2 separate regions of the Homo sapiens genome follow, and region 1 is linked to region 2. Evidence: promoter capture Hi-C in 16 types of primary human blood cells and fetal thymus (Javierre and others, 2016). All regions are on one chromosome and are shown on one strand. The core of a region is centred on a gene start or on the middle of the fragment in contact, and the rest is flanking DNA. Distances in the headings are between cores, read along the strand shown. Region 1 has its middle 3.4 kb from the start of OR4M1. Region 2 holds the start of OR4K13 (olfactory receptor family 4 subfamily K member 13).

Region 1 (2,872 bases), core at 119-2,618, 270 kb after region 2:
CAACTGTGGAGCCCAAAGAGGTGTTACAGCTTTTCCTCTGGGAGTCAAGGTCTGAGCCCCCAGGAAGTGTTACAGCTCTTGTTCGTTCTCACTGCCGACAGCTTCAGCAAATGGGGGTATGTCACAGCTCATTCAGTCCTGCTGCCCACAGCTCAGCAACTGGGGACGTGTGGCACCCAGCATTTTTTTTTTCACTCCTGTAGCTTGGTGAACAGGAGCGTGTCTTACAACTCTTTTCGCACCCACTGTTCAGTGGATTCCGGATTCTTGTCCCACAACCAACAGGAATGAAGCATATAGACACCGCAGAGTGAGCAAGGCTGATGAGATTTTTACTGAGCGGCAGAAAAACTCATGACAACAAGAGAGTAGCCAAAGTGGGTAGCCCTCTGTGTAAGAGTGGGACTGAAAGCAGAGAGCCATCTGTGAGGCTGAGTCTGGGGTTTTTATGGGCTCAGAATGGAGGAATGTGTGCTGACTGGTTCATGGGCAGGCCTGGAAAAAGCACCATTTAATTGACTAAAAGGCACTGAGGAAGTTCTCAGTTGGGTCGTGGACTGCACCTGGAACTGGTGGCTTGGTTTTCAGGCTTCATGTTGTCTTTGGCTTGAAGGTTGGGATTCACCAGGGACTTATACCTGTCTGCCTAGGAATCTGTCTGTCTCCTGCCATTATCAGCTGCACATACCACACTGCTTTCACTACCAAGGAACCCACAATGATCACTGCGCAAACTATAGTACTTAACTCCACAGAGGACTCCAGCAGGTTTAGTCACTGACAAAATCAACACCCAAAGATCACAAAGAAGCAGGAAAACATGACACCACCAAAGGAACAAAATTAATTTCTAGTAACCAACCCCAAAGAATTGGAGATCTATAAATTGCCTGGAAAAAATCAAAATAATTACATAAGGAATCTTGGGGAACTACAAGAGAACACAAATAAATAGTTTAATGAAATCAGGAAGACAATCCAAGAACAAAATGAGAAGCTCAATAAAGAGAGAAAATATTTTAAAAAGAACCAAACAGAAATGTTGGAGCTGAAAAATACAACAGCTAAACTAAAAAAAAATGTAATAGAGGCTTGAACATCAGACTAAATGAAGCAGAATAAAAAAATAAGTGAACTCAAAGACCGAGCATTTTAAATCATCCAGTAAGTGGAGATAAAAGAAAAAAAAGAATAAAACCTACAGAAGCCATGGAATACTATCAAGAGAGCTAACATTAGAATTATCGTAGGTTCAGAAGAAAAATAGAGAGAGCATTAGATAGAAAGCTTATTTAAGGAAATAATCATGGGAAACTTAGCAAATATCCGGAAAGAAATGAGCATCCACATGCACGAAGCCTAAAGTTCTCCAGTCAATTCAACCAAAAAAAGAATCCACAAACATACGTTAACATCAGCCTGGCAAAAATCAAAAACAGAGAAGCTTGTAAGCAGCAAGAGAAAAGAATCATGTCATATAAAAAAGGACCCAAATAAAGCTATCAGTGGATTTCTCAGCAGGAACCTTGAGGATCAGGAGAGAATGAAATAATATATTCAAAGTGATGGAAGAAAAATAAAACTGCCAACCAGCAATATTTTGCCAGCAAAGCTGTCCTTCAGAAATGAAGAAGATAAAGACTTTTTTAGAAAAACAAAAAAAGTTGAGTGAGTCTTCACTATTGCTTGCCTTACAAGAAATGCTAAAGGGGGATTTTTAAGATTAAATAAAAGGCAGCTAATTAGTAACATTAAAACATACAAAAATGTAAAACTAACTGGTAAAGTATATATATGGTTAAATTTAGAATATTCAAACACTATAATGGTGGTGGTGTGAATCACACCATCATTATAAAGTTATAAGATGAATGTATGCAAAATGACTATAGCTATAATAAATTCTTAAGACATACAAAAAATGTAAACTGTAACATCAAAAGCACAATGTAAGAGAAGGGAAGTAAAAGTACAGAGCTTCTTTAGCAATCAAAGTTAAGATGTTATCGTCTTTAAATGAATTGGTTAAACAATAAGAATATTTATGTAAGCCTCATGGCAACCACAAATTAAAAATCTATAGTAAATACACAAAAGATAAACAGAAAAGAATCAAAGCATACCACCAAATAAAATGATCAAATCACAAAGGAAAACAACAAAGGAGTAATAAAGGGATAAAGGATCTACAAAGCAACCAGAAAACAATTAATAAATTGACAATAATAAATCTTTACTTACCAACTATAAATAAGCAAATTTTGTTAATCAAAAGACAAAGAGTGGCTGAATTGATTTATAAAAATAAAATCCAACTTAATGCTGCCTACAAGAAACTCACTTCACCTTTAATAACACACACAGACTAAAAGTAAAGGGGTAAAAAACAAAAATATTCCATGAAAATGAAAATCAAAAAAGAGCAGTAGCAGTTACATGTGTATCAGACAAAATAGACTTTAAATACTGTCACAAGAGACAAAGAAGGTCATTAGATATTGATAAGAAAGTCAATTCATTGAGATAATAGAACAGTTATAAATATGAATACACCCAACATCAGAGCACCTAAATATATAAAGCAAATATTAACAAATCTAAAGCAAGAGATAGACTGCAATGCAATATTAATAGAGAACTTTAATATCCAATTTTCAACAATGGATAAATCATCCAGAAAGAATATTATTAAGAAAACATTGTCTTGAACTACTTCAGACTAAATGAATCTAATAGACATACACAGAATATTCAATCCAACAGCAGAACACACATTCTTCTCAAGCTTACACAGAATATTCTCCTGGACAGATTGTATGTTAAGCCACAAACAAGTCTTAACAAATTTCAGAAGACTGAAATCATATCAGAT
Region 2 (2,933 bases), core at 349-2,848:
AAATCATGCTACTAGAAAGACACATGCACACGTATGTTTATTGCGGCATTATTCACAATAGCAAAGACTTGGAACCAACCCAAATGTCCAACAATGATAGACTGGATTAAGAAAATGTGGCACATATACACCATGGAATACTATGCAGCCATAAAAAATGATGAGTTCATGTCCTTTGTAGGGACATGGATGAAATTGGAAATCATCATTCTCAGTAAATTATCGCAAGAACAAAAAACCAAACACCGCATATTCTCACTCATAGGTGGGAATTGAACAATGAGAACACATGGACACAGGAAGGGGAATGTCACACTCTGGGGACTGTTGTGGGGTGGGGGAAGGGGGGAGGGATAGCATTGGGAGAGATACCTAATGCTAGATGACGAGTTAGTGGGTACAGCACACCAGCAGGGCACTTGTATACATATGTAACTAACCTGCACATTGTGCACATGTACCCTAAATCTTAAAGTATAATAATTAAAAAAAAAAAAAGAAAAAAAAAGAAAATAATATTGGATTTTTAGGGTGGGTGAGGAGTTGATTATGAATATCCAGGAGAAGTTAGGGATTGATAAGGTAGTTATCACAGGTTTATAAAGAAGAGAGTGATATGATGAAAAATAATTTTTATAGGTAATGTTAAATTCATTCTAAGAATAAACTGTATTTGTGGGGAGATTACATTATGCAACATCTACAAAGTGGAATTCTATACACCTATTAAAAAGTTATGTTTCTATATGTTAATATAAACATATTTAAATGTAATAAGTTAAAAACTCAAGAAAAATAGCTATACATATAATATATAATCTGCAGTCTTAATAAAATGATATAAATATAAATACCTGTAACACTAACACACACACACTGTACTGAAGTGTGTATTATTTTTCTGGAAAGTTATCTAAGAAGCTCTTAAAATGTTCAGTCAGTCTTTCTGTTATCTGTGATGTGCTTTTTTCACATTGGCATAAACTACCTTTTTTTTTAAAAGATAATTAAAAGAAAAAAACATATTTTAACCAGCTTTTTAAGAATGGCTGTTCTATTTCTGATTTTAAAATACTTCAACATTCAATTTGACATTTAAAAATAAATATTGTTAAAATTCCTAATGTTGTGGATTTTTCTGTGGATTAAGTCAGCTGACTTAATCTAGATCCTGAATATGCACTACATAGTTTATTCATTCAACAGATATTCACTTAGTGTTTTTGATATGCACTATTCCAGATGTGGAGGATTTATAAACTTCTTTGTATGTATTTGAAAATTGTTCTCTTCTGTTTAAATGCAGCTTCAAAAATTGGGTTTCAAAAAGAAGCATTAGTAGGAATTCTTAAATATTAGTCATAAAACTGAAGAGAGCTATTACCTTTATAGACATATAAATGAATGGCTCTAATTACATATTTGATGAAATTTAATATTTTGCATCAAAGTTTCTCAGAGTGGGAAATTGGCCAACAGATATGTTTACATAGGGAAAAAAATACATCCCTAGTTGGATAAGTGTTCCTATGGGATTATCTCATAGAAACATATAGCACTATGGTCTCTATTTTTTCTGTTTCTGATGATTGGAAGAGTAAATTGCAGATAACTGATGGGGATACAGGAAAAGGAGATAAAAGGCCATTCCTGGGATTCACGTACGACGCCATCACGAAAGTTTTTTTCCCCTGTCTTGTAAGTAATAACAGCACAAAAAGATGACTACAAATACTTTATTTACTGAAGGTGTTTTGTAAGACCTAGATTAATTTAAAACTATTAGCAACGGAGGCAATTTTTTTAAAAGCTGAACCAATAGAACCAGTTTGTAATAAGCATGAGCCGATGACAAATTTTGTCATAAATTTAGATTATACTGAAAGAACTGTATTTCTTTTACCAACATAAATGTTACATCAAGCTAAGTCATTTTGAAACCTATGACAACCATACACAGGCCAACCAGCTAACCACTACATAGCAATAACCAGGTAAATGAATAAATGAATGCAAGCTGAAAGTGAAATTAGTCAATTACATTTGACTGTGGGTTGTTTGTACACATTGTCTAACCATCTAGAGGAGGTATTTGATGTGAATAATATGAAATGTTGAATGAACGAATTATATAAATATATATAAATATATGAAATGTATGTAATATACATGTTTAATATATATATACTATACATATACTTGACACTTCAAAAGTGTGTAGTGACTACTGCTAATACTGATCTGTGAGGGATTCATGCAAGAATGGAGCATGGAGGAAATAAGGTAAGTTTCTCAGGACCTAATTCATATTTCTTTACCAGAGTCCATTTCAAAACATGGTTCTTGAGAATCCTGGATGTATTTTTGATATCCTTTCCACATTAATAAAACTCAATATTATTCTGTGACTATAAAACTCACCAGAATCATTATCTTATTCATAGAGATCTTTATAGCAGAAAGAGGCATTCGATACCATATAGTCCAAATTCTTTTTTTCACTGAGAAGAAAACCCTCAAAAGGAGAGTTACTTGTCCTGTGTCACCCAGTGAGCAGCTTACCCAGGTGTCCTGTAGAGGTCTTCTGATTCTAATTCATGACCTATAGTTTTGTGGTTTCATGTACTATTAATGTTTTTATTTTTGTCTTCCAGAAACTTATATTCTGAATTCTACTGACTATTTGGGATACTTCTCTGGGCCATTAGTAAAATCACTGACTGACAAAATTCCACAAAAGTAAGGGTCCTTGTAAGTTCAAGTGCCTTGACTGAGTACCAAATGTGGACATCAACATGAACATTTCTTTCCAATATGCATCATTTCCCTACCCCTTATTCTCACTTATTTTGATCATTATGGGATAAAGTTGACGATATGGAAAGAGCAAACCATTCAGTGGTATCGGAATTTATTTTGTTGGGACTTTCCAA

Evidence for each region. The method cuts DNA at HindIII sites, captures the fragments that hold promoters and counts their contacts. A CHiCAGO score of 5 or more calls a contact.
Region 1: a fragment that was not itself captured here is called in contact with the fragment with the promoter of OR4K13 in region 2 in 6 of 17 cell types (M1 macrophages, non-activated CD4 T cells, M2 macrophages and 3 more); the score reaches 6.9 in M1 macrophages.

What each region holds. Positions count from the first base shown.
Region 1 is chr14:19,768,696-19,771,567 of GRCh38, reverse strand. No RefSeq gene overlaps it. Among named protein-coding and RNA genes, the nearest start is that of OR4M1, 3.4 kb to the left of the region's middle. The HindIII fragment of the contact is 157 bases long and covers 1,290-1,446 here.
Region 2 is chr14:20,034,703-20,037,635 of GRCh38, reverse strand. It overlaps OR4K13 (olfactory receptor family 4 subfamily K member 13), which reads left to right and starts at 1,598. Exons shown (of 2, transcript NM_001004714.2): 1 at 1,598-1,698; 2 at 2,655-2,933. The coding sequence starts at 2,878. The HindIII fragment of the contact is 9,053 bases long and covers 1-2,933 here.